Regions from separate parts of the Homo sapiens genome. Here regions 1, 3 and 4 are each linked to region 2. Evidence: promoter capture Hi-C in 16 types of primary human blood cells and fetal thymus (Javierre and others, 2016). All regions are on one chromosome and are shown on one strand. The core of a region is centred on a gene start or on the middle of the fragment in contact, and the rest is flanking DNA. Distances in the headings are between cores, read along the strand shown. Region 1 overlaps LOC125312414 (a long non-coding RNA gene). Region 2 holds the start of ATP1B1 (ATPase Na+/K+ transporting subunit beta 1). Region 3 has its middle 7.0 kb from the start of XCL2. Region 4 overlaps LOC125312414 (a long non-coding RNA gene).

Region 1 (7,400 bases), core at 4,868-7,367, 620 kb after region 2:
AAGGAAAGAAATGGGTTGAACACATCATTGCCCTAATTTCACAAAGGTAGAGAAAGTAGCAGAAGGAAAGTGACTTTTTCGAGGTTACCCAAGGTTCCACTGTGTTAGTGGTTTGGAAGGAAAGAGAGGTCTGGCTTCCAGCCAGCCTGGACATCTGTGCTCTCCAATTCATCATTGTATTCAAACTACAAGAGAACAAGCAATTTAATATTTGGTGTCACCAATGCATTAGCCCTACAAGAGCTGGTACAGCAGCATTAATATGCAAACAGCTAAATATAAAGTATATTTTCTTACCAAGCAGAGTGCTTCCAACCCCTTAGGAAAACCTGAATCTACTGTACATAAAAAGTGAATAAAATAGCAAAGTATAGCAGGTTAATCATTAATATATTTTCATTAAAATATGAGGGAGAAAATGTAGCTATATTCCACTCTTAGGAATAACCCTTAGAGTTTAGGAAGATGCAAGAAGAGAACAAATGTTTCTATAGACATTGTGCTAGTACAGTTTATCCAAAAACTCTCTCTCCACAAGGATTTAAGGTTCTAGGGCAAATGCCAGATATATGACTGAAAGGTGATCCCAGAATACCTCAGCAATTAACCCTGCATTATTTTCTTCTCTCTTATACTGAAAGCATTATTAGAAATCAAGCATGTAGCTCTCTCTGGAAGTCAGGGAGCTAGAGAGTAGAAATGAGTACTGTGGTATACTAAAATTCGTTGAAACCATGAGCATCTAGAGACCATTCCCTATATACAGAGAGGACTGAAGTCCAGCGCTCTGTTTTCCCCAGTATTCTCTGTAGACTTTGTTGCCTCCATTCTGCACAATGTAAGAAACCATTAGGAGAAAACCTCCCCTTGAACTGTCTGGAATAGGTCCTCTTTGTTCTTATTACCCAGGTATTAAAAGTAGAAGAAGAGAAACTGAGAGTATCCACCTAGATAAGAGCAAAGTGGGATAATCTTAGTATTATTCTTTTTTTTTTTTCTTCTTTTACTACACTTTAAGTTCTGGAATACATGTGCAGAATGTGCAGCTTTGTTACATAGGTATACACGTGCCATGGTGGTTTGCTGCATCTATCAACCCATCATCTAGGTTTTAAGCCCCGCATGCATTAGGTATTTCTCCTAATGTTCTCCCTCCCCTAGCTCCCCACCCCCTAACAGGCCCTGGTGTGTGATGTTCCCCACCCTGTGTTCATGTGTTCTCATTGTTCAACTCCCACTTACGAGTGAGAATATGTGGTGTTTGGTTTTCTGTTCCTGTGTTAGTTTGCTGAGAATGATGGTTTCCAGCTTCATCCATGTCCCTGCAAAGGACATGAACTCATTCTTTTTTATGGCTGCATACTATTCCATGGTGTATATGTGCCACATTTTCCTTATCCTGTCTATCATTGATGGGCATTTGGGTTGGTTCCAAGTCTTTACTATTGTAAATAGTGCTGCAATACACACACATGTGCATGTGCCTTTATAGTAGAATAATTTATAGTCTTTTGGGTATAAACCCAGTAATGGGATTGCTGGGTCAAATGGAATTTCTGGTTCTAGACCGTTGAGGAATTGCCACACTGTCTTCCACAATGGTTAAGCTAATTTACACTCCCACCAACTGTGTAAAAGTGTTCTTATTTATCCACATCCTCTCCAGCATCTGTTGTTTCCTGACTTTTTAATGATCCCCATTCTAACTGGCTTGAGATGATATCTCACTGTGGTTTTGATTTGCATTTCTCTAATGACCAGTGATGATGAGCTTTTCTTCATATGTTTTTTGGCCACATAAATGTCTTTTTTTGAGAAGTGTCTGTTCATATCTTTGCCCACTTTTGGATAGGGTTGTTTTTTTCTTGTAAATTTGTTTAAGTTCCTTGCAGATCCTGGATCTTAGCCCTTTGTCAGATGGATAGATTGCAAAAATTTTCTCCCATTCTGCAGGTTGCCTGTTCACTCTAATGACAGTTTGTTTTGCTGTGCAAAAGCTCTATGGTTGAATTAGATCCCATTTGTCAATTTTGGCTTTTGCTGTAATTGCTTTTGGCCTTTTAGTCATGAAGTCTTTGCCCACGCCTATGTCCTGAATGGTATGGCATAGGTTTCCTTCTAGGGTTTTTATGGCGTTTTACATTTAAGTCTTTAACCTATCGTGAGTTAATTTTTGTATAAGGTGTAAGGAAGGGGTCCAATTTCTGCTTTCTGCATGTGGCTAGCCAGTTTTCCCAGTACCATTTATTAAACAGGGAATCCTTTCCCCATTGATTGTTTTTGTCAGGTTTGTCGAAGATCAGATGGTTGTAGATGTGTGGTTTTATTTCTGAGGCCACAGTTCTGTTCCATTGGTCTATATCTCTGTTTTGGTACCAGTATCATGCTGTTTTGGTTACTCTTGCCTTGTAGTATAGTTTGAAATCAGGTAGCTTGATGACTCCAGCTTTCTTTTTTATTTATTTATTTTTTTTGGATAAGGATTGTCTTGGCTATAAGGGCTCTCTTTTTGGTTCCATATGAAATTTAAAGTAGTTTTTTTCTAATTCTGTGAAGAAAAGATAGGGTTTTTGTGTGGGCATCATTTTTGTTGATGTTGGTGTTATTGCTTTTGTTTCTTAGTTTTTCTTCTAACAGTCAGGCCCTTCTTCTTCAGGTCTGCTGGAGTTTGCTGGAGGTCCACTCCAGACCCTGTTTGCCTGGGTATCACCGGCAGAGGCTGCAGAGCAGCAAAGATTGCTGCCTGCTCCTTCCTCTGGAAGCTTCATCCCAAAGGGGCACCCGCCTGATGCCAGCCAGAGCTCTCCTGTACGAGGTATCTCCCAATCAGGAGGCATGGGGATCAGAGATCCACTTTAGGAGGCAGTCTGTCCCTTAGCAGAGCTTGAATGCTGTGCTGGGAGATCCACTGCTCTCTTCAGAGCCAGCAGACAGGAACTTTCAAGTCTGCTGAAGCTGTGCCCACAGCTCCCCCCCACGCCGCCCCCCACCACCCCCACCCCACCAACCCAGGTACACTGTCCCAGGGAGATGGGAGTTTTATCTACAAGGCCCTGACTGGGGCTGCTGCCTTTCTTTCAGAGATGCCCTGCCCAGTGAGGAGGAATCTAGAGAAGCAGTCTGGCCATAGCTTTGCTGCACTGCGGTGAGTTCCACCCAGTACAAACTTCCTGGCAGCTTCCTTAACACTGGGAGGGGAAAACCGCCTACTCAAGCCTCAGTAATCTTTTGTATTATTCTTAAGAACAATTTAAAAAACTACTACTCATATTTGTTTAGTGCTTTTCCGTTTATACAACATTTTCCATCCATTTTCTTGTTTGGTACTTACAACAATCCTGTGAGATAAGTAAGATGAGTATTCTTTTCTAACTTTTAATTAAGAAAAATTTCCAACCGATAGAAAAGTAGATAGAATGGTGTTATTCATCTCCTGAAACTTACAATATGAACAAATCACTATTCATCTGTCTTTTTTAAAAACTGAAGTATCTTAGTAAATTGCAAGCAACATGTCATTTTCCCTTATTATACCTAAAAAATTAATAATTATCTAATATCATCTCGTCTATAATTCATAATCAAATATCCACCAACAGTAACATGAATGTTACTTTCTCATTTTACAGATGTTACCTTTTTGACATAACCAAGTAAACCAACAGGCTTGAAGACACACCGATCATAAAAATGAATCTAAGAACCCAGGTGTAATCTTCTGATTTCTAGGTCCCAGCGCTTCTCATTTTTAAGCAGAGTTTCATAGAAATACTCTATTCAAACAAACAAACAAAAAAAACAGAAAAGCCACAGACCTCTGTAACATTTAAGCAGAGGTGTCCTCTTAGTAAAATGTAAAATACATGTGTGAAATCTGTTTCCAACAAGCTCTTATGTTATTTTTAGTGGCCCTTCTCATCACCTGTGGTGTTTTGTTTTGCCCTCCCTCAACCCATTTCTATTGCCCCCATCCATACTTTAGCCAACACCATTCTCTGATATGCTGGGTTGCCTGAGTGCCTCACCATGTCTACCTAGCCCATGTGTCTCTCTGTCCCCATCCACAGGGGTAACACCATCTTGCAGAGAGCAAACACTCTAAGAAGGCCTGATGGACTCATCTGCCTGAAAGTGGTCATAATGACTGGCACCATAACCCATTCTGAGTGTCCATGGAGTAATATAGAGATGATAGTAGTTTGCCTCATGGAATCTTAAGAAATAACATTGTTATCATGATTCTTGCAGCATTATGAGTATTGGCAAGGTGTCCCTGCAATAGGTTAAAGGTGTGCACTCAATTTATGCAATCCCTCCCCACCCACCCAGAAATTTTCTCTTCCATTTAAATTTTTTACAATCCTCTTTAAGTTTCAACCCCTCCTCTCATGACAACTATTACACACATATTCAAGTGAACCTAGCTGCCGCTCTTGCTTCACTTCTAGTATAGAAATGTTTACATTTTCTTCCACGAGGTTCTTGGCATCTTTTGACAGTACCTGCCAATGACCACTGAACATTTTTCAGATGGATGTGGGTATGCTCCAAATCATGACATCAAAGGTATTTCTTGGATCTACTGAATGATTTAGCCTAAGTGAATCAGACAAATATGGAAATTATGTAAATCTTATGTGTCACCCAGGGGAAAGAATGTGAAACATTTTAAGGCAAAAACAAGTTCTGGTTATTATCAGGCAACCTTGGAAATGTGAGATGACAAAACAATGTAATGTTGCCCAACTCTGGAGAACAAGGAAGGAGAAAAATTAATCAGAACAGATCTCACTTCTCATTCCAGACTCAAGCTGCTTAGACAGGAATCCAAATTAGTGTGCCCCCACTCCAGCTCCAAATAAAGCACTTTACACAAAAATAATTAAAAACTCTGTATATGACACCTTCCTTCCAGGGTTTGCATATCAACATAAAAGCATTAGAGAAAATTCCCAGATGCTACAATTCCAGACATAAAAAATTGTCCAAAAGGCCTTTCTTTGCATCCCTGAAACCATACCACATTTATATCAGCCACACTTCTTAATTGGGAACAACAGAATCCACTGTATCCACTCTATATAGTTTAGAGGGAAAATGATGGTGGGGAGGTTTTTAAAAGACACATTTGCCCTCAGAATTATTGAACTAGCTGGAAAAACAGATTAGAACTGAAGCTTTCAGGAATAATGCCCAAAATCACACAGAACTAATTCAATGGGGAAACAACATATAAATCCCTGGAACTAGACTATTCTGTAGCCACTCCTCCCACCAGTACCAATTCCATTTTGATCTTGTGACTAGGGTAAAAGTTGGATGTCTTTACAGATCCAGAGTCAGTTGCTGTCTCATATTTGAATTAAAGTTTCATGTTTATGTCTGATTGGCAGAGCCTAGGCCTATCCTAAGCTCTTTGAAACATTAACTCATTTAAGCCTCAAAACAACCCTAAAAGGTTGGTACTATGAATATCCCTTTTTATAGCTGAAGGAACTGAGGCACATAAAATTATGTAACTAGTCTGAGATCACATGAACAATCAGTGGCAAAGTTGAAATTTGAATTAAGATGGTCTGGCTCCAAAGCTCAAGATTTCTTAACACTTTTTTTGTTCTGTTTTGTTGAAAATATTATATTCACATGTTTGCATCCTAGCTGCAAGGAGGTGAGACATTGGTTCACTTACTCAAATCTAAAAATGTTATTCAAAGATGACGGGTAAGCGTAAATATGACAGATGTCTACCACAAATTTATAGAATAGGTAGGGCCATTCCTTTATATTTTTGTATCCCCTTAAAATTGTGGAATGTAGGTACATTTCTGTGTATATTTACTATCCACAGTGGTGGTCTCTAAAGACAGCTCCACATTGCTCCACCCACAGCCTTCTGTGCACATATGTTGCTCCTCCCATAAAAAGGAGGAGGCTTATCTCTCCACCTCTTTTGAATCTGGGCTGACCTTGTGACCTTTGAAATTCTTTAGGACATTCAGTGAAATGCAGCAGAATGAAGCTATGCCTGGCCTTTAAGAGGCTGGCAGCTTCTGCTTTTGCACTGGGGAAACCAGTTGCCATGTAAGAAATCCATCTACCCTCAGCCTGCCATGCAGTAGGGAAGCCCAAGCTAGCCACATGGAGAGACCACATGGAGAAGAATACAGTCACAGATGGAGACAATTAAATCCCTACACATGTGTTACCCATAGAACCATCCCAGCCAGCTCCTCATCCTTCAGATCATCCTGGCCAAGGCTCCAGACATCCTTACACTGCTTTGTCCAAATTCATGACCCACATAATAATGAGCAAGCAAAATGGTAGGTGTCTTAAAATGCCAGATTCCAGGGTAGTTACACAGCAACAGATAACTTAGACACAAATTAACACTATATTCTCACCTAATTAATAATAAAAATTTTGCATCTCATTAAATTTCCTTTTATAGCAATAGTGAGCAAACTTTTTCTTAAAGGGCTACATAGTGTTTTAAGTTTTGCAGGCTACAAAGCAAAATTGAGGCTATTATGTAAGCTCTTAGATAACCATTTAAAACGTCAAATCATTCCTAGCTCAAGGGCCATAAAAAAATCAGGCAGCTCACCAGATTGGCCCATGAGCCGCAGTTCGCTGATTTCTGCTCTACAGCCTCGCTTTTGATATTTGCTTTGTACCTCCTGATAGGAACTCCCTATAACTCATTTAATCAAGACCCTATTCTTGAGCATTTAGTTTGTTTGTAGTTTTCTCACTATCTCAAAAACTGTCATATTAAACCTTGTGGTTATTTCCTTAAGGGGTGGTTTAAAGAAAACTGTATTTCACGTTGCTATTTGAGTGTGAGCAGCATGAGTCCTTCCTCCTCAATCAGGGATAATCTTTTTCTCTTTTGGCTTCCTTAGAACTCCATAGTTTGGAGTCAGACTATCACTGAAGCCCAAATCATTGCTTCCCTAAAAGAGATTAGCAATCCCAGGCCCCAGGGAGAACACAAGTGCCCCCTTCTCACTTCCTCCCTTTCCCTCTCAGCAAGAGGTGGCCAACACTAAGCTTTAGCTCCAAGCTTGACAAGCTTCCAGCTAGGAGGTGTCCCACCCTTCTGCAGGTGAGCCAGCCTCTGGCTTCCCCCAGCTCCCTCTCCTGGCACTTGATTCTTCCCCTTCAATTCTCAGCCTGCAACAGGCCCCACAGCGGAGCACAGCAGGACAGAGGACAGGATGAGCCCTGCTGATGTGGAGTCCCAGACAAGGTCACCTATTGGAACAGGCTCTGCGTAAGCCTGCATGCTCTAATCCTGTAACCCAACTATCTAGTGGAAATCCATTGCTGCTGACACTGTCCTTCAGATATTTTTAAACTGTGATAACTACACTTACATGGAGTACATGAAAAACAGA
Region 2 (6,689 bases), core at 328-2,827:
ATAAAACAAAAGCTAAAAGCCATTAAAGAACTACATTTTCCATGGCTCAGGGATACCTATGCTTCCCAGTAACACCTTGGAAAGACGCTTCACCTTGACTAACCTTGAAGTGTGATGCATTATTAACCCTTTAATTTTCAATCAAGAGAGACTCACAGGCTGCATTTTTTTTTCTTTACAAAAATTCATATATTCCAGCTTCTTCCATTTCAAAATGTCAGCTAAGCACTATTTCCCTGACTCATTCTCCTGCCGATTCCCACAGATCCTCCCAAGCAGGAACACCAATCGGCCTCTGTTCAGGACTCCCTGAATGACTGCAGTGGTGGTGCCAGTGGTGTTGGTGGTGATGGTCATGATGATGATGATGATGATGATGATGTTGGAGGAGGAGGGGGCAGTGATGCAGCAGGGGGAGTTCCCTCCCTCCTTCCCTCACGCAGTCACGACTCATAGATTCGCCTACAACTCTGCCCTTCAAAATGACCTTTTTTTTAAAAAAAAAAAAGTCACCTTTCCGGAGAGGCTGAAAACAAGAAATCTAATTTTCGATGGAAAAAAGTCTATCCAACCAAGCAACAGGCTGCACAAAATATTTTAAGATCAGCTGCTCTGCGTTTATATTCCCTTCACCATAATCAACCCAACCTACTGACTGATCCACAACTGTCTGTGTAGACCTTGAAAACAACCAGACTTTGCCAGGTTTCGGGCCAAAGCTAAGAATCGGAGTCCTGAAATGGAGCTTATTGAACCATTTCTGGGTGGTGATGACTCCAGGGGAGGTCATGGAGGGAAATCCTTAGCCATCGCTGTGAAATACTACAGTGTGGATGGATTCCTCTCCACCCTTCTCTTTCCTCTCTTTTGAGATACGTATTTAGACTAGAAGAAAGATGCTGTAACACACAACCTCGTCTGCATTAGATCCCATCACCTCACGAGGTTCTCTCAAGACCCCAGATCTCATTTTTTTTTTAAGGACTCAGGACACGGGAGAGACAAATGTAGTCTCGCAGAGCCTGACTATTCCCAGGAGTAAAAGGCTCAACCGATGCACGGTAGGAAAGACTGCAAATTACCAAGCCAAGATCGCTACGATATGCATAACCTTCCGCCTGTCGTGTTCCAGCCCCGACCCTGCGCCCCACTCTGGGGACACCGCATTCCGCACAGGACTGCAAGCCCAGGCCGGCGCGACCCAGCAGCGTCCACCACCCTCGCCCCCGCCACCCCGGCCAGCGCGGTGGGTGCGGAACCGGCCGCGGACCCTGCGCAGGGGATGCGCCGCCCGGGAAAGATCAGACGCGGCGGCCGGGAGCTGCGGACCCCGTACTTACACCAACTGCCACCGGTCCTGCCCAGAAACTCCTTCTTCTCTGAGTTCCAGATGAATTTCTTCCAGCTGCCCTCCTCCTTGGCTTTCCCGCGGGCCATGGCGATGGCGGGTCAGCAGCTGCCGCGGTCCGGAGGGTGGGTGGCTGCGGCGCGCGCCCTGGCGTCCTCTGCGCCGCTCGGCTTCTCCGGCCTGGCTCTCTGCAGGCAGGACGCGCCGCTGCCGCTGCGGCTCTCGGAGTGCGAGACGCGCGGCGGAGGAGCCAAGGCAGGAGCAGGAGGAGGGGGAGGCGGCGGCGGCGGCGGCGGCGGGGCGGGGGCGGAGGGAGGGACGGCGCAGGCTGCGCGGCTCCGAGCCCCGCACCTATTGGTGGGCGCGCAGCCGCTCGCGGGCTTTCTTTGGTCCGCCGAGCGCTCCTCTAGCCCTTGGGGGGTCGGGGGCTCCGCGAACCCGTAGCTGCCGCTCCCGCTGCCACTGGGGACGTGTGCTGGGCCCCCGCCTCCCCTGACCTCTGCAGAGACAGGCCCGGGGTAGGAGAGTCAGAGAGGGAAGGACGGACAAGCGGACTGCGGGGCGCCACCGGCACTCCCGCCAGGAGCCGAGGAATTGGCTGCGCCCGCCCTACCTTTACTATATACCGCGCCCCGGCGGCCGTGCGCCCCGCCCTCTAGCGGCCCGGTGGCCAATCGCCGGCGCCAGGGGCAGGGACTCGGCCCGAGAGGGCGGGTTCGGGGCCGGCACAAAGGAGCCGCCGGGGCTAGAGGGGCCGCTTGGATCGCTGGGCGCGGGGCGTTGGGCGCGGGGCGAGGAGGAGGCGGGGGCGGCGGTGAGGGACGCGCAGGCAGCGCCGCGCAGCCCCCTCCCAGCTCCCGGCTGGGCGTGAACCGCCCCTTCCGTGGCTGGGGGATCCGCACCTGGGTCGCCCGGAGCCTCGAGGACCCCAGCCCGGCAGTCCTGGCCCAGCCTCCACGCCTCTGCCTGCCCGCCCGCGCTTTCGGCCTCCCTGGGCTGTGGGTCCACCCCTCCTGGGCGCTGGCGGGGTGGGGGAAGGTCACTCCGGGACGCCGGACTGGCGAGGACTCTGCCCAGCTCCGCCCCGCCTCCCGCTCCTGCACCTGCCGCCCCCTCGCACTCCCCGCCACTGCGGTTGCAGTTCCGGCCCTTCCCTCTTCTTTGCAGGCCAGCCCAGCCGGCAGCCCCGGTTCCTGACTGCCCGGCTGTGCCCCTTGTGGGCGGCCTGAACCACCTCGAGCAGGACAATTGCCAAACCCACCCAGGGCGGTAGCCCGCAGTGAGTTGTCCCGTAGAAACCAATTGAGACTCAGGCCAGTCTAGACCCCAGGCAACAATATCTGCACGTGACCCAGCCACCGAGGACTTTCTTGGTGCCCGGTCGGCGGCGGGTATTCTCATTGGCATGCTTTTATGCCCCCTTGGGGGTATCGATCCCTTTGTTCTGCTGTAAAATTCTTGGAGCCAAAGGACCTTTGGGAAAACCTAGCGCATAGGGCAAGATGTTGCAGACCTGGGGCATAGAGTACCCCTTCCCACTCTTTGTCCGCTGTTGCTGGAAAGCCAAACTCTTGGTTTCATCCCTCTCCTATGAGCCCCCAAGCAGCTTTATACATCCCTCTGAGGACAGTGACACAGCAGAAAACACCGGGATGCTTCTGCTTCCACTGCAGAGAAGCCCTATCCCCAGGGGCCATCATGGCCCATCTTGACGTCCCAGCCCCATATCAGAGAATTCCCCAATACCAGGATGCTTGTCCTTATCCTGGCCACCCTTCTGTCCCCAAGGTCAACCTCGCTGGCATAAAGACAAGCCCGAACTGATTAAGAATGAGCATTTTTCTAATCCTTCTCCAAGCTCGCCTGCAGGACCTGTGCAAACCTAAACATTCCTGAAATTCGGGGGAGAAGCGACCACCTATCCACCAAGCCCCAGTGGGGGAGGCTGCAGGGCTCTGTCAAGGGCATCCGAGAGAGAGAACAGCTTATTGAGAAAGGAAGCCACCTCTCGTTTAGCACCTGTAATGTTTATGTTGGAAAAACCCCAGCTTGGTAGTATGAGAGCTGCAGGAAGATGCTGCACTTGCGGGTATGATGACCCTGGTCCCCTTCAGGCAGAAGTTACCTTATCGAGTAGTTTTCCAGCAGGACAGGTTGCTGGGAAGGGTATGTGTTGTTGAGTGTCCATTACTGTAACAGGAGGGAAAACCTGTAGGCAGAATCAGCAAAAAGAGATGAGTGGGGAAAGGGTAGCATGGGAAGGGATGAGGCGGTTCTGGGAGTTGGTGGTGCCCTTACTTGTGCCCACTCCGTTCCTGTACCTTGATTCCCAACCCCCCTTCCAAAAGAAGCATATGGTAAGACAAAATATATAAAGAGAGTCTCCAGTGACAGATTTTCTTTTTTCCTAAAACAAGTGTCCTACCTTAGCTCTTCAGAGGTGTAGCAAACACCCAGTAGACTGATGCTTGGTCTCTAGTCTTTGATTTACTGTCTTCCACTGGGGAATATCTTCCCCTCTCAAATTTTAGGTCCCTAGCTCTACTCATCCCCCCTTCCCTGCATGGAAACTCTTCACAGGTTCAGATGAAGTCCTGAGGGTCACGTCTGCACAGCCAATGCAGCAGCTCATCCTAAGCCAGCCTCCTCCAGCCTTCCTGAAAACCTCCAGGTTTCCACCCAGTCCTGGGATTGCTGCTGGAAAACATGATCTCAGCCCTATAGGAACCAGATTTATCTCAGTAGCTCATCTCAGACTCCACTTGCCCCGCCACTCTAGACCATCTGGAATTGTACCACTCATCTAACCACTTCATCACACAGAACAAGCTGGTAAAGACCTACATTCACCTTCCCAGCTTCAGAACATGCATGCTAGCTGGGTGACCTTGGGCAAGTCACTTGTTCTCTCCAGGGCTGTTCCCTCAGTCATAAAATTGAAGTGATACATTATTGCAAGGATAAAAGGAGCGATATGGGAAAGTGTTAAGCACAGTGCCTGAGGCATGGCAAGAGCTAAGTAGCTAGCTTAATTATAATCAGCTGTTTCCATTTGACCTTGGCTAACCTTGGGGCTGTTGCTATGACTTTGTCACCTTCCCACTCTGATACCCACCCCATACCAGGACTCTGAGTTCCCATCAGCCCCTAGAAGGTCACCCTGACGCATTCCCCACCCTCTCTGCCACCTTTCCCCTTGCTTTCCAGTGCGCTTCCTGCTGTGTGACCTCCTCCAACTCAAGTAATGAATAACTCAAGTACTTTATGTCCCGTTGGGCTGTGCTGAGCTGGGCTTTTGTTCCAAGGCCCCTTCTGTGAAGGGTGCTGTAGCAGCAGGTTGAAAGCCGAACATGTGTGGTTCTCCAAAGGGAGGGGTGCCCCGGCAGGTGGAGTGTGTGGCTGGGCGTGGAAGAGGGTGTGGACCATGGGGAACTAAGACAACTTTTCAGTCAATGCGTATGGAAACCCAGTGTTTCTCTGCAGAAAGGAGAAAGAAATTATTCAGTTCAGTTTAAAGGCTCAGGAGGAAGAGAACAATTTTTAATCCCTTTTTTCAGTGCAGGCTGGGGAAGAGGCATGGTTCTGGAGTCCTGTGATTGGTTCTGCCCAAGGTTAGTGCTCTGTGGGTGGATGAGGGGAAGCGGAGAGCAGGAATGGCAGGAGAGCGGTGAGAGACCTCCGTCCCAGTGAGGATGACATGTTCTAACTCAGGAAATGAATAGATGCTCTTGCGATTGAAGAAAAATCTACGCTGGAGGCAGACAGGCTGGCAGGTAAAAGCAGGACAGAGCAGTCCTGTTTGTAGCAAGGTGGCCAGTCAGAAGCTGGGCTGGGAGAAGAGGCAGGACAAATCAACCCCTAGCAGTAAGATCCTTCTGTTCAGAGAAGCTAAAGTGAGGGGTGCCTGCAAAAGAGAGGGCGCAACTTGGCAGGCTGCATGAGGTCGAACCAGATTTGAAAAACAGACCTTCCCCTCTCTGCCCCTCCCCAAATATTGGCTCTCTGAATCTCTCTGCCAAACACAATGCAGACTGCTCTTCAGAGGGCTCCGCAGGGCTGAGCTGCCAATCCCACCTTCACACACGTGCTCACTCACAGTGGGGTTCTGTTTGGCCAGCCCTAGAGTATTTTAAGTACAGCGTGGAGGGGATGAGGGTATGTGTTGCATGGTGACTCATCCTGGCAGCAGAAACTATGTGCAGTGCAGAGAAAAATGGCTCAATGGCAGGCTCTGTTTGCAGTGGAATGCACAGCTCTGCAATGGAAGACAAAGAGGGCTGGGAGAGGACGAGCTCTGGGAAATGCTGCTGGACTTGCCACCTTGGCCAGGACATGCATAGATACCTGGGTTGCACCTAACATGGGGCTGGGCTGAGTGCCTTACCATCACAGAAGGATGCCGGATTGCTCCGGGGCTTCATTCTGTGCTGCACAATGGACCTGGCCTGTTTGACAGAAAACCAAATCATTCTCCAAAATGGTTCTGGTTTCTAACAATAATTTAGCACTGCTGCAGTTTAAACCCTATCCGTTCACTTCTTTCATCTGAAGGCATTCTGTTCTGGCACTTTCCTATTTTACTGGATCTGGAATCGAATCCTTGTGTGAGGACATAGTATGGAAATAACAAAAAAAGGACTTTTTTTTTTTTTTGCTAGGGATGTTGGTAAGCGGACCATTCGTGTCATCAGTGGGAGTGGTAGGTTACCCGCTCAACACCTTGGCTCCCAGGCCTTGACTAGCAGACTCCCAGAAGTTGTTTTCTGCTGTGCTGTTTCCTGTTTCCTGAGAGGACGTCCAGAAAGCATCCCTGATATAGTGAGAATACTGGGATTTCTCTCCACCTGCCATGTCCTTTGCCAAATTATTAAACGTGGATAGTGGAGGTGACCAAGGCAGGCACAGAAAAGAAGACACACAGAGAATGATTTTTGTTTGGTTTGTTCTAGCAGGACCGCAGAGGTGTCCGGTCTTTGCAATAATCTGAACTTACTTGCATGATTGGTAGGTGGTAGGCCTGAAGGCCCATGGATAAGTGGTGCTAAACCATTGTTAGAGCTTTCAGACTTAGCTTGCCTGCTTTTTTGTACTCCCCCAGTGGGGGGTAAATTAGTTGAATTTGGTTTTTATCCTTGGAAAATTGGCACCAACCGGCACCTCCTCTAAGCTTCAAAAAATAAAGTTCCTTTCCAGAATTTTCCATCTGCTTAAAAGGCAATGAGCAGACACCCTTCTGAGAGGCTAATCTCAATAAGAGGAGGTCCCACGACATCATTCCCCTGACAGAGGCATTGTCTCAACAGCCCCAGAGACAAATGTAGATGAGAGAGGATCTGAGGTA
Region 3 (6,998 bases), core at 4,374-6,873, 570 kb after region 2:
TCAACTTGTCTCTATAATAGAATTCTATTTATAGAATAAGGGAGAACAAAATCCAGTCTGCATAAACATCTTCTTTTGAGAAGTGCCTGTTCATATCCTTTGCCAAATTTTGATGGGGTTGTTTGATTTTTTCTTGTAAATTTGTTTAAGTTCTTTGTAGATTCTGGATATTAGCCCTTTGTCAGATGGGTAGATTGTAAAAATGTTCTCCCATTCTGTAGGTTGCCTGTTCACTCTGATAGTAGTTTATTTTGGTGTGCAGAAGCTCTTTAGTTTAATTAGATCCCATTTGTCTATTTTGGCTTTTGTTGCCATTACTTTTGGTGTTTTAGTCATGAAGTCCTTGCCCTTGCGTATGTCCTGAATGGTATTGCCTAGGTTTTCTTCTAGGGTTTTTATGGTTTTACGTCTAACATTTAATTCTTTAATCCATCTTGAATTGATTTTTGTATAAGGTGTAAAGAATGGATCCCTCTTCAGTTTCTACATATGGCTAGCCAGTTTTCCCAGCACAATTTATTAAATAGGGAATCCTTTCCCCACTTCTTGTTTTTTTCAGGTTTGTCAAAGATGAGATGGTTGTAGATGTGTGGTATTATTTCTGAGGGCTCTGTTCTGTTCCATTGGTCTATATCTCTGTTTTGGTACTAGTGCCATGCTGTAGTATACTACAAGGTTACTGTAGCCTTGTAGTATAGTTTGAAGTCAGGTAGCTTCAACTACCTGATGCCTCCAGCTTTGTTCTTTTGGCTTAGGATTGTCTTGGCAATGCAGACTCTTTTTTGTCAGATCTGAAGGAGATAGAGACACAAATAACCCTTCAAAAAAAAATCAATAAATTCAGGAGCTGGTTTTTTGAAAAGATCAACAAAATTGATAGACTGCTAGCAAGACTAATAAAGAAGAAAAGAGAGAAGAATCAAATAGATGCAATAAAAAATGATAAAAGGGATATCATCACTGATCCCACAGAAATGCAAACTACCATCAGGTAATACTATAAATACCTCTATGCAAATAAACTAGAAAATCTAGGAGAAATGGATAAATTCCTGGACACATACACCCTCCCAAGACTAAACCAGGAAGAAGTTGCATCCCTGAATAGACCAATAACGGGCTCTGAAATGGACGCAATAATTAATAGCCTACCAACCAAAAAAAGTCCAGGACCAGACAGATTCACAGCCAAATTCTACCAGAGGTACAAAGAGGAGCTGGTACCACTCTTTCTGAAACTATTCCAATCAATAGAAAAGGAGGGAATCCTTCCTAACTCATTTTATGAGGCCAGCATCATCCTGATACCAAAGCCTGGCACAGACACAACAAACAAGAGAATTTTAGACCAATATCCCTGATGAACATCGATGCAAAAATCCTCAATAAAATACTGGCAAAACAAATCCAGCAGCACATCAAAAAGCTTATCCACCACGATCAGGTGGGCTTCATCCCTGGGATGCAAGGCTGGTTCAACATATGCAAATCAATAGAAGTAGTCCATCATATAAAGAGAACCAAAGAAAAAAACCACATGATTATCTCAATAGGTAAGGCCTTTGACAAAATTCAACAGCCCTTCATGCTAAAAACTCTCAATAAACTAGGTATTGATGTGACATATCTCAAAATAATGAGAGCTATTTATGACAAACCCACAGCCAATATCATACTGAATGGGCAAAAACTGGAAGCATTCCCTTTGAAAACTGGCACAAAACAGGGATGCCCTCTCTCACCACTCCTATTCAACATAGTGTTGGAAGTTCTGGCCAGGGCAATCAGGCTGGAGAAAGAAATAAAGGGCATTCAATTAGGAAAAGAGGAAGTCAAATTGTCCCTGTTTGCAGATGACATGCTTGTATATCTAGAAAACCCCATTGTCTCAGCCCAAAATCTCCTTAAGCTGATAAGCAACTTCAGCAAAGTCTCAGGATACAAAATCAATGGGCAAAAATCACAAGCATTCCTCTACACCAATAACAGACTAACAGAGAACCGAATCATGAGTGAACTCCCATTCACAATTGCTTCAAAGAGAATAAAATACCTAGGAATCCAACTTACAAGGGATGTGAAGGACCTCTTCAAGGAGAACTACAAACCGCTGCTCAATGAAATAAAAGAGGACACAAACAAATGGAAGAACATTCCATGCTCATGGATAGGAAGAATCAATATCATGAAAATGGACATACTGCCCAAGGAAATTTATAGATTCAATGCCATCCCCATCCAGCTACCAATGACTCTCTTCACAAAATTGGAAAAAACTACTTTAAAGTTCATATGGAACCAAAAAACAGCCCGCATTGCCAAGACAATCCTAAGCCAAAAGAACAAAGCTAAATGCTCCAATTAAAAGACACAGACTGACAAATTGGATAAAGAGTCAAGACCCATCAGTGTGCTGTATTCAGGAGACCCATCTCACATGCAGAGACACACATAGGATCAAAATAAAGGGATGGAGGAAGATCTACCAAGGAAATGGAAAACAAAAAAAAGCAGGGGTTGCAATCCTAGTCTCTGATAAAACAGACTTTAAACCAACAAAGATCAAAAGAGACAAAGAAGGCCATTACATAATGGTAAAGGGATCAATTCAACAAGAAGAGCCAACTATCCTAAATATATATGCCCCCAATCCAGGAGCACCCAGATTCATAAAGCAAGTCCTTAGAGATCTACAAAGAGACTTAGACTCCCACACAATAATAATGGGAGACTTTAACACCCCACTATTCAATGCAATTCCAGTTAAAATTTCCATAGAGTCTAATGTCAACATTAGACAGATCAACGAGACAGAAAGTTAATAAGGATATCCAGGAATTGAACTCAGCTCTGCACCAAGTAGACCTAATAGACATCTACAGAACTCTCCACCCCAAATCAACAGAATATACATTCCTCTCAGCACCACATCTCACTTATTCTAAAATTGACCACATAGTTGGAAGTAAAGCACTCCTCAGCAAATGTAGAAGAATAGAAATTATAACAAACTGTCTCTCAGACCACAGTGCAGTCAAACTAGAACTCAGGATTAAGAAACTCACTCAAAACTGCTCGACTACATGGAAACTGAACAACCTGCTCCTGAATGACTACTGGGTACTGGGTACATATCGAAATGAAGGCAGAAATAAAGATGTTCTTTGAAACCAATGAGAATGAAGACACAACATACCAGAATCTCTGGGACACATTTAAAGCAGTGTGTAGGGGGAAATTTATAACACTAAATGCCACAAGAGAAAGCAGGAAAGATCTAAAATTGACCCCCTAACTGCACAATTAAAAGAACTAGAGAAGCAAGAGCAAACACATTCAAAAGCTAGCAGAATGTGTTGTTATTAACTGAGGTGGGAAAATGCAGTAGTTGCTGGTTTTCGGGAGAATATTAGGGGCTCTGTTTTGGTCATGTTAAGTTTAGGTGCTTAGTAGACATCCATATGAAAATGTCAAGTAGTCAGATAGCTAGGTCAGGAATCCAGAGGACGTGTCTAAGCTGGAAATACTAATTTTGGAGTCATTAGCTTATATGTGGCACTTAAAGCCTTGATAATGGGCAAAGCATGTAGGTAGAGTTGATCAAAATATAAAATGTTCAAGGACTGAGCCTTGGACACAGATTGGGAAGATGAGGAGGAACCAGCAAGGAAAACTGGGAAGAAGTCAGAAAGATATGAGGAAACCCAATCTTGTGTGGTATCCTGGAAATCAAGGCAGGAGGATGTTTGCAGGAATAGAGTGAGCAACTTTGCCAAATGCTGTAAATAAGTCAGAAATTAGAACTTAAAAATAGTTGGATTTAACAGCATGGCTGTCACAGAATGACTATAAGGGGAAAAGCGTCAGTGGATTGGTAAGAGCAGAAACTTTTGAAGAAGGGTTGAGAAGGCCTGGGAGAAGAATTAATGACAACTCTTTAAAGAGAATAATTTTAGACGACAGTTGTCTCATAAGCATCACTATAGAGGCTTGGAGAGAAAAAGAAGCTTGCAGAGAAAAAGAACTACAGCTGAAGTGGAAGTGTAGTCAAGAGATGGTGTTTTGTTTGTTTATTTTGATTTTTACATGAGAGAAAAAATAACAAGTTTGTACACTAATGGGAATGATTCAGTGGAAAGTTTAACACTTAGTATAATATCCAGTGTATCAACTATATATATATATATGCTATTTTCTTAATAATTTGAATTCATAAATGCATGCCCCTAGAAACTGGTTATGTACTCCTGATTCTTTACATTTTCAATTTCATTATTTCCACTAGGCACTAATCGTATTAGCAATTTGATCTGCAGTTAAACTGTTTTCTGGTATGGATAAGAGAAAGAAATAATAAATAATACATTGTTAGAACCCATCATAATTATACATTTTTGATAAAAATATGATTTCATTAAGAGTTTTATAAACAGCCATTTGACACAAATTACCTGCCCTTACATTGTAACAGTTTTAAAAAATAACTGTTGATTTCAAAATTAAAATGAAACTTCCCCAGGCATAGACTGTCTTCCTCTTCTTTCAACTACTACTGATTAGTAATTTATTTAACCCTGGATGTTTATTCAAAGTTCCAGTGGCAGTAAAGTTGATTTATCCTAAAAGTCTGATATCTGTGGACCCTGATCCCCCCTAATGGGAGTGGTACATCAACTTTTTAGGTAATTCAAGAAGTAGCTCCTGCATTGGCAGTCCCTTTCACTGACTTCAGTATTATCACTTGCTCTTGGTGTTACCTTAACAGTTCCTTCAAGAGAATGTCTTCGACATTGTGGTTTCCTGCCCAACTGCAGCTTAACTTTATAATAAAACACCCTTCAACCCTTCCTTCCTGTTGCTTCTGCCCTTGCCCCAAGCCAAGAGTAGTGAAAACTCTGCTAAGTAATAACTATAGGATTTCTCTCTTAGCCTCTTGGCCTCTACTTTCATTCTGGATATTATAACTTAGGCCACAAAATCATTCACAATTCCCATTGCAAAGCTTTTTATCTCTTTTCTATTAAAAACTTAATATTGTATAAGCTTCTCTCCTACCAGATGCCTCAACTTTACTCTTTTGTAGTCTGTTTTAGTTTTTTGCTTATTGAGATTAACCTCACACATTTGATTTTTTTAATAGTTATGCATTTTGAAGAGAACAAGGAATAGCTTTAGACTGCAGTTGCCTCAGAAACCTCATTTAATGTTTGATAGGGCAAATATTTCTTCTCTGTTTTTTTATTGACAGGTACAGTCACATGCCCATGTGTTAGAGCATAACAAGTATAGCTTAAAATTGCTTATAATAGTCACTAACATTTGCTGAGCACTTATTCCATCTCCAGCACTCTGCTAAACGTTTGGCACACATTATCTTACTTGATTCTGTATTTTGCTACTGACAAAACTAAGAATTTGGGAAGGTTAAAGCATTTGTCCAGGGTTACACAGCTAATAAATAGTTGATTAGGGATTTGAATACAACTGATCTGACTCCAGTAGCCACCTACTTAACCACTCAGGAGAGAGTTTGCTTGCAGGATGATGTATAAGGGCAAAACTTGTCCAGCCAAGTCTCAAGGGCAGAGGAGAGAGATCTCTCCTAAAGAAAAGAAAGCCTTGGTAGCAAGGAGTTATAATACACTGGAAGTGTAACAGTCCCTTGAAGTTCCATTATTTATCTTAAAATTTGTGATGATTTTGCATTCTGCTTCATAATATATTTATATTGCTTTAATATAAAAGAAATATTTGGCTCTATTAAAGGACAAAAAAGATGCAAATATTTACGAACCAGATGACAAACATTGTAAGGATATCAGTTTTCCCCAAATCAATCTACTATTCAATGCAATTCCAGTTAAAATTTCCACAGAGTTTTTGGGCAAAACTTTCTAATACAATTTTTAAATTTATATGACACAAAGACATTCACAGATAGCTAAAACAAGTTAGGAAAAGAAAAACCAAGAGTAAATGTTTCCCCTATCAAATATTAAGACATAAGATAAAGCTGTGATAATAAAAAACACAGTAGTGTTAATTTAGAGATTAACAACGAGAACAATAGAAAGCTCAGAATCATGTTTATAAATTATGCATCTACATACACACACATACATATGTGTGTATGTATGTGTATATATAAACTATGATCAGATGAGAATAAGGTATATTATTCACAATATATTGCTGGAAGCTTTTGCTTATTTTACAGAGAAAAATAAAATAAGTTTCCTACCTCACACCATGTATAAAAATAGACTTCTGATACATTAAATGCAAGAAGAAAGAAAAGAAGGGAAGGGGGAAGGGAAAAGAAGGAAAGAGGAAGGAAAGGAAGGCAGAAGGGGAAAGAAGGAAGGAGGGAAGGAAAGAAGGAAGGAAGGGAAACAAGGAAGACATAGGAGAATATCTTTATTACACCTGGGTGAGGGAAAGATTCCATAACTATATTCCCAAAGAATAACTCACAAAGAAAAATAATCTGATATATTTTCCTATTTCAAAATTACAGATAAACACAGAGTTGCTGTCTATCTCATTGCCTTATTCATTTTCTTCATAGTGTTTATCGCTTTACGATACTGACTAGTTTACTCATTTGATTTGGGGTCTTGTGCTCATTTAAAGGTATGCTTCAGGAGGGCAGGTACTTTGCCTATTGTGTTTACCACTGTAGACACAGCGCCAGAACTGTGTCTGGCATAATATGTGGGCAATAAATGGGTCCTTTGTACATTGTCTTAAGGATTTTTTAAATATTCCTGAATTTTATAGATCCCACCGCTATCTGGGATTCCCTTTCCTTACCATTTTGCAGGTTCTACTGAAACTTCCTCTAACATAACTCATAAAGGGTATCTACAAAACTGCTTATTAGAGAAATTTCAGGTTCTACCATGCCTGAAACTCTGATTGAATCCCTATAGGCAACAGTAGGACTATTATGACAATGTCTCTTGAATGCGTCATGTAGGGTTGATCCTTTTAGAGAG
Region 4 (6,681 bases), core at 1,980-4,479, 640 kb after region 2:
TCCATGAATGGCATTCAGTTAGGAATGTTGTTATGCTTCCATCTTTTTTCACTTAATAAAGGCTTCAGCCAATCTAAGTTACAAATAAGCCTGACCCTACTGAGTTACAAAAGTTATGTTTTCTGTAGCTGGTTTAAGAGAACTGGAATCTGAATTGGCCTTCTCCAAGACTACAAGATTGAGTTGGATGACCTTTGCAAAGGTTTCTGGGAGGCAGCTAGACTAAGAAGCATGGGTCTTTCCCCTTCCTGCCTGGAAAAGTATACAGCATGTATAGTTTACCCCTTGGACAGAGCTAGTCCCAAGAAAATTCCTAAAGCTGGAAAAGCTGGCTACTGAACACCTAATACTCAGTTTCTCTTTTCTAAAATTCCTCCTGCTCTTAGAAACTCCCCTATTGCCCAGATGTCATGCAACTAAATTATATTGCAACCATACAATGGAATACCGTGCAACCATTAAAAAAATATTGTGGAAAAATATTTAGCAGCATGCAAGTCATTCAGGTATTCCCCCAGGCCTCCAATTCTCAATCAGAGCATAAAATTTGTCAAATATTTTACTCTGGTCATTGTTTCCTGAGCATGTAAAACCACACCATTTCCTGCACCAAGTCAAGGTTTACGGTCTTAGTTCCAAGAACTAGTTTATAAGTAATAAACCAGACTATTTCCGGTTAGACTAGCAATAAGAAAATATACTATAATTGTTCTTTTTATTGAGAAGCAGTGACATGGATGTTTATCCATCCTAACATTCTCAAAGATGCAAACTTCTCACTGGAATTTAAAAGACATCCTTTTTGAGTAACCATTAGTTAATACTATTGTTTTTCGAATAAGATATAAACCCTAGTCCATCAGTTCATGGCTAGGGGATTTTGAACATGTAACTTAATCTCTTTAAGGCTCAGTTACTGTATTGACAAAATGCAACTACAATAGTATTTATCTCATGTGGTTAATTGAAAAAGTAAACAAAATAGTATGTACACAACTTATATAGTTCCTAGTAGTCAGTAGATTCTCAATAGATGTCAGCTATTATGCAAACTGCAGGACCTCAGTTTTATCCTCCAGCCTGTATTTAAGAAGGGAGTTGAGAGAGTCTCATCCTCATGGATAAGAGCAAATCACAGACTTCACCAGAGTTTCTAGTCTGTCTTATGAGGGAGTCAGGAATTAAAGAACAGCTTTGTATGATTCTCTGTTTTGTTTTTGACCCAGTCTCTCTCCCCTGTGAAAAGCAGCAAGAGAGGTTTCACTTCTCTATGAGACATAGCAGGGAAGCAGGACCTTGCTCTGGAACCAGTCTTAGGGAACTGTTAAGTTTAAAGCGTACCAAGGGACAAAGCAAGGAGAATGGCCTAAAAGGAGAGAGAAGCCAGCTGAGACCATAGGGCCTTGGCAGTGGCAAAAAATAAGGGCAATTTGGGAAGACAAAGATGGGCCTAAGAAATTGTCTTGGGAATGAGCAATAGGAGGCCTAGGTAGGATTCCTGTTATACAACAACTCTTTCCCATCAGGAAGCCAAAACTACTCTTGGACTTGGTAATTCCCCTGTCCATATGACACCTTAGCCAAAAGGGTAAATCTAATTCCAGTAAATGAAAGTATTTAGAGTCCTCACAGTGAGGAAAACTGTCTGCAGGCACTGGTGCAGAAATGTCGATGAGTGAGAAACTCCAATATGTTTGTTTTGAGAGAAAGAGACAGAGACACCCACAACCACTGTAAGTCAGAACGTGATCCCTGTGCTAGCAGAGGTACAATGTGCTGTGGGGCATGGGGGAGGTAGCTCCAGTGTACTTACTAAGAAGCGTGAGCATGTGTAAGAGTGGGAGGTGGAGAGGGAGGGGCAAGAATCAACATGAGATTTACAACAAGAACATCTCTTTTCCGGGACTGCTGACATATCCTGGGCTTTCTGCCAGCTCTGACCACCACCTGTTCAAAAACCAGAATGAAAAGCATTCCCCTTCCTCAGATTCATGTTGACTTGCTCTTCCTTCCCATTATAGTTTGCCTCCCTTTGCACTTTCCAAGAAATTATAACCCTGGGCTCAAGTGAAAATGAGGATCATCTGATTTCAGCTTGTTAACAAGGAATATTGGAGAGTCTGAATGGTGACGACCATCCATGGCCTGTTGATATATAGTGTGTGCCTTTCTGCCCTGCCTTGTTTGCTGGTCTGAGATTTTGCACCCTCTGTGAGTGGCTAGAGAATTAGGTTACTTCCTAACTGCTTTCAGGCTCACCGTTTCCCTCAAAAATCCTACATTCCAATTCTTGAGGTCAGACTTCTTTGGGGCTACAAGGTAAAGGCACTGGCCTTGTTTTCCTAGTTCCTCTCGGTGTGATGTTAGATGTTTAATTTGAGATCTTTCTAACTTTTTGAAGTACGCATTTAGCACTATAAACTTTCTTCTTAACACTGCTTTTGCTGCATCCCAGAGATTTTGGTATGATGTGTCTCTGTTTTCACTTATTGCAAAGAATTTTTTTTATTTCTGCATTAATTTTGTTGTTTACCCAAAAGTCATTTAGGAGCAAGGTATTTAATTTTCATGAATTGTGTTGTTCAAGAGATCTTTTTGGTATTGATTTTTGTTTTTATTCCACTGTGGTCTGAGATTATGGTCAGTATAACTTTGATTTTTTTTTAATTTATTGAGGCGTGTTTTATGGCCAAGCATGTGGTTGATCTTGGAGTATGTTCTGTGTCTGTGTGCAGATGAGAAGAATGCGTATTCTGTGGGTGCTGGATGAAGTATTCTATAGGTGTCTATTAGGTCCAATTGGTCAAGTGTCAAGTTTAAGTCCAGAATTTCTTTGTTAGTTTTCTGCTCAGTGATCTTTCTAACACTATCAGTGGGGTGTTGAAGTCCCCCACTATTATTGTGTAGCTGTCTAAGTCCTTTCATAGGTCTAGAAGTAGTTATTTTATGAGTTTGGGTGCTCCAATATTGGATGCATATATATTTAGGATAGCTAAGTCTTCCTGTTGAATTGGAAACTTTATCATTATGTAATGCCCTTTTTTGTCCTTTTTTACTGTTATTCGTTTAAAGCCTGTTTTATCTGACATAAGAATAGCAACCCCTGCTCTTTTTTGTTTTTCATTTGCATGATAGGTCTTTCTCTGACCCTTTACTTTGAGCCTATGGGTCATTACATGAAAAGTCAAAAACAATAGATGCTGTCAAGGCTGTGGAGAGAAGGCGATGCTTATATACTGTTGGTGGGAACGTAAATTAGTTCAGCCATTGTAGAAAGCAGTTTGGAGATTTCTCAAAGAACTTAACCATTCAACCCAGCAATTCCATTACTGGGTATACATCCAAAAGAAAATAAATAGGACACATGTACTTGCATGTTCATTGCAGCACTAAATGCACCATGTCTTTTGCAGCAACTTGGATGTGGCTGGAAGCCATTATCTTAAGCAAATTAACTCAGGAACAGAAAACCAAATACTACATGTTCTCACTTATATGTGGGAGCTAAACATTGGACATAAAGATGGCCACAATAGACACTGGAGAGTACTAGAGAGAGGAGGAAATGGGGAATAAGGTTTGAAAAACTAACCACTGGGTTCTGTCTCACTTGTCTGAGTGACAGGATTAACCATACCTCAAACCTCCGCATCACACACTATACCTGATATGGTATATCTATATACATATACCCACCCAAATCTCATCTTGAATTGTATTTCCTATAATCTCCACATGTCATGAGAGGGACCTGGTGGGAGGTAATTGAATCATGGGGGCAGTTACCTCCATGCTGTTCTCGTGATAGTGAGTGAATTCTTATGAGATCTGATGGTTTTATAAGGGGCTTTTCCCCCTTTTTCTCAGCACTTCTCCTTGCTGCCGCCATGTGAAGAAGAATGTGTTTGCTTCCCCTTCCGCCATGATTGTAAGTTTCCTGAGGTCTCCTCAACCATGCTGAACTGTGAGTCAATTAAGCCTCTTTCAATTATAAATTACCCAGTCTCAGGTATGTCTTTATTAGCAGCATGAGAACGGACTAATACAATCCCCATATAACAAATCTGCACATGGGACCCCTGAATGTAAAATTAAAGTTTAAACTATTAAAAAAAGAAAAGACATTGGCTCATTATGACCACATTTTGTGATTGTTCTGAGAATGGAGTCTCAGGAAGGCTCTGCAGGTGCTAGCTGAACTCTATGCCAACTCTCACACTGGACACCAGAGAAGATTGTGCTAGTGAAATGGGAAAACCAGGTTTCAGGAGATGGGGAATAAGGTAAATGAGTGCCAGGTTACACATGGCAGGATTTGCTCACTCATTTAACATTTAGCAAATATCACTAGAGTGTCCAGTACATGCATGCAACAAGAAAAAGGCACAGTCCCTCCACCCAACAAGACTATGGTCTACTGAGCGGGAAAGGCAACCAAAAGATAATTAATATACTACAGTGTGATCATTGCTACAGTGGGAGAAAGTCAAGATGGAATAAAGTAATACAGGAGAAGGAAATAACTCTAAGTTGTTGCGTTGAAATAAGGCTCCTGGAAAGAAAGCAGAGGCAGATTTGAGAAGCACAAGGCATGCATGGGGGTCCCCAGGCTGGATGGCAGAGGAGGGAGTGGAGGGGTGCAAATCAGTACCTGAGGCAGCCAGGGCTTGGTTGACACACTACCAAGAGTGCCCCATCTCTCATTCTTTCCTCCTCTATCCCCTCCCCTTTCTTTTGATGGATCTTCTCCCATCAGATTTGTACACCAAAGAAATAAGCACTATAGACCACAATAAAAATGGATCCAAGTGGCTTTTTAAAAGGCAACCTCACTTAATTAAGATATTCAGTCTCCATAACCCTGAAGGAATTCACTGGAAGTGCCAGTTTTCCCAGCAGCCCAGCACCCAAGAGGGAAACTAGATATAACCACACTTATGCTGCCTTCCCTCGTTTCACTCTTTCTCTTCTTTCTCCTCTCTTATCCTTGACCCTGAGAGAGAAGAGGAACAAAACTGAGTAGAAAGAGGTAAAGGAAAGGATGAGTGGATGAAAATACAAGAAAAAAGAATGGCAACACATGAGGAATGCTGGACTACCTCCTGCATATGGGCTATCTAAAGTGTTCCTCAGCAGACCTTTTTTTTTCTTTTCTTTTCTTTTCTTTTCTTTTTTTTGAGACAGAGTGTCACTCTGTCGTCAGGGTGGATTTCAGTGGCACAATCTTGGCTCACTGAAACTTCCGTCTCCCAGGTTCAAGCAATTCCCCTGCCTCAGCCTCCCAAGTAGCTGGGCCTACAGACACACACCACCATTCCCGGCTAAATTTTGTATTTTAGAGACAGGGTCCACCATGTTGGCCAAGGTGGTCTCGATCTCCTCATGATCCACCCACCTCAGCCTCCCAAAGTGCTGGGTTTACAGGCGTGAGCCACCACACCCGGCCAAGAGACCTTTTCTTAACAAGGATTTTCTCCCAATCCTCCCGGATAAAAGGATGGAAAAGGAAGATGAAGGCAAGACCCTTGGCCCAGAAACACAGCAAAGGTGGTCTGGTGAGAAGGCGGCAGAGGCCATCTCTCTACTGCACTCCCTCTCCCCTGGGCCCTTTTCCCCGTCCCCTGCCCTTGGGCAGTTGTCTGAGAGACCTGAAGTTCTCTGCACACTTTCCCCCTTTCTCTGACTCTTTTCTATTCTCTACCAACTGTGATGCCTACAACAGGCCTGAGTGGCTCCGCTCCTGCTCTTACACAGGTGAACCTCCTCATGAACTCCCAGGGGGACATATATGGCGTACTGGACATAGTCCATTTCTCAAGGACAGCAGGATCCAACCTGTCCATTAGCAACAGCAGCACTGTGTGAGATAAGCAATGAATGAAGACACACATGGTGTCCTTCCTCTTAACAATATCAGTGACAATACAACAATCTTCTTTTATGGAGCCTTTACCAACCAGCTTCCAACTCCCTCTGATTGTGATCTTTCTTTGTGCTGTTGGTCAGCATTTCACAGATATGCTTGCAAGATCATCTGTTTTTAATAATGATAATGTTTAATAGTATTCAAACATTTACATCTTGTGTTTCTTTATCACAAAATCACTTTGCAAGGTATAAATTATTATTTCTACTTTACAGATTATAAAATACAGACTCAAGTTTGTCAGACTTCAAAGCCCTCACTCTTTCTCCTGCTCCAAAATGTCTTACTTCCCCAACTGTAAGCACACTGAGGATAGAAACTGTGGCTCCTACCATGTTCTAACCCAATGCAAAGAAGCTAAGAATCTTGATAAAAGGTTAGATAAATGGCTAGCTAGAATAACCAGTTTAGAGAGGAACATAAACGACCTGATGGAGCTGAAAAACACAGCACGAGTGAACCATGCACAAGTATCAACAGCCAAATCAATCAAGCAGAAGAAAGGATATAAGAGTTTGAAGACCACCTTACTGAAATAAGACATGCAGACAATGGAGAAAAAAGGAATGAAAAGAATGAAGAATGAAATGTGAACAAAGCCTCCAGGAAATATGGGACTTCATAAAAAGACCAAACCTATGATTGATTAGAGTACCAAAGGAGATGAGGTGAATGGAAACAAGCTGGAAAACACACTTCAGGATATTTTCCAGGAGAACTTCCCCAACCTAGCAAGACAGGCCAACATGCAAATT

Evidence for each region. The method cuts DNA at HindIII sites, captures the fragments that hold promoters and counts their contacts. A CHiCAGO score of 5 or more calls a contact.
Region 1: a fragment that was not itself captured here is called in contact with the fragment with the promoter of ATP1B1 in region 2 in 2 of 17 cell types (fetal thymus and M2 macrophages); the score reaches 8.9 in fetal thymus.
Region 3: a contact is called between a fragment that was not itself captured here and the fragment with the promoter of ATP1B1 in region 2, in 1 of 17 cell types (fetal thymus). The highest score is 6.3, in fetal thymus.
Region 4: a fragment that was not itself captured here is called in contact with the fragment with the promoter of ATP1B1 in region 2 in 1 of 17 cell types (fetal thymus); the score reaches 7.1 in fetal thymus.

The regions. Positions count from the first base shown.
Region 1 is chr1:168,480,988-168,488,387 of GRCh38, reverse strand. It overlaps LOC125312414 (a long non-coding RNA gene), which reads left to right. Exons shown (of 8, transcript NR_176090.1): 2 at 2,657-2,815; 3 at 3,082-3,145. It overlaps LOC101928565 (a long non-coding RNA gene), which reads left to right. Exons shown (of 5, transcript NR_176057.1): 3 at 2,657-2,815; 4 at 3,082-3,145. Among named protein-coding and RNA genes, the nearest start is that of XCL2, 59 kb to the left of the region's middle. RefSeq lists a silencer at 5,891-6,091. The HindIII fragment of the contact is 1,876 bases long and covers 5,180-7,055 here.
Region 2 is chr1:169,101,578-169,108,266 of GRCh38, reverse strand. It overlaps ATP1B1 (ATPase Na+/K+ transporting subunit beta 1), which reads right to left and starts at 1,577. Exons shown (of 6, transcript NM_001677.4): 1 at 1,341-1,577. The coding sequence starts at 1,437. LOC101928596 (a long non-coding RNA gene) reads right to left here and starts at 4,143. Exons shown (of 2, transcript NR_135799.1): 1 at 3,774-4,143; 2 at 3,360-3,557. RefSeq lists enhancers at 868-1,440, 1,441-2,013, 1,802-2,096, 2,587-3,160 and a silencer at 1,610-2,529. The HindIII fragment of the contact is 9,537 bases long and covers 1-6,517 here.
Region 3 is chr1:168,533,540-168,540,537 of GRCh38, reverse strand. No RefSeq gene overlaps it. Among named protein-coding and RNA genes, the nearest start is that of XCL2, 7.0 kb to the left of the region's middle. The HindIII fragment of the contact is 1,156 bases long and covers 5,046-6,201 here.
Region 4 is chr1:168,461,560-168,468,240 of GRCh38, reverse strand. It overlaps LOC125312414 (a long non-coding RNA gene), which reads left to right. Exons shown (of 8, transcript NR_176090.1): 4 at 3,868-3,964. LOC101928565 (a long non-coding RNA gene) reads left to right here. Exons shown (of 5, transcript NR_176057.1): 5 at 3,868-4,127. Among named protein-coding and RNA genes, the nearest start is that of XCL2, 79 kb to the left of the region's middle. The HindIII fragment of the contact is 7,450 bases long and covers 1-6,681 here.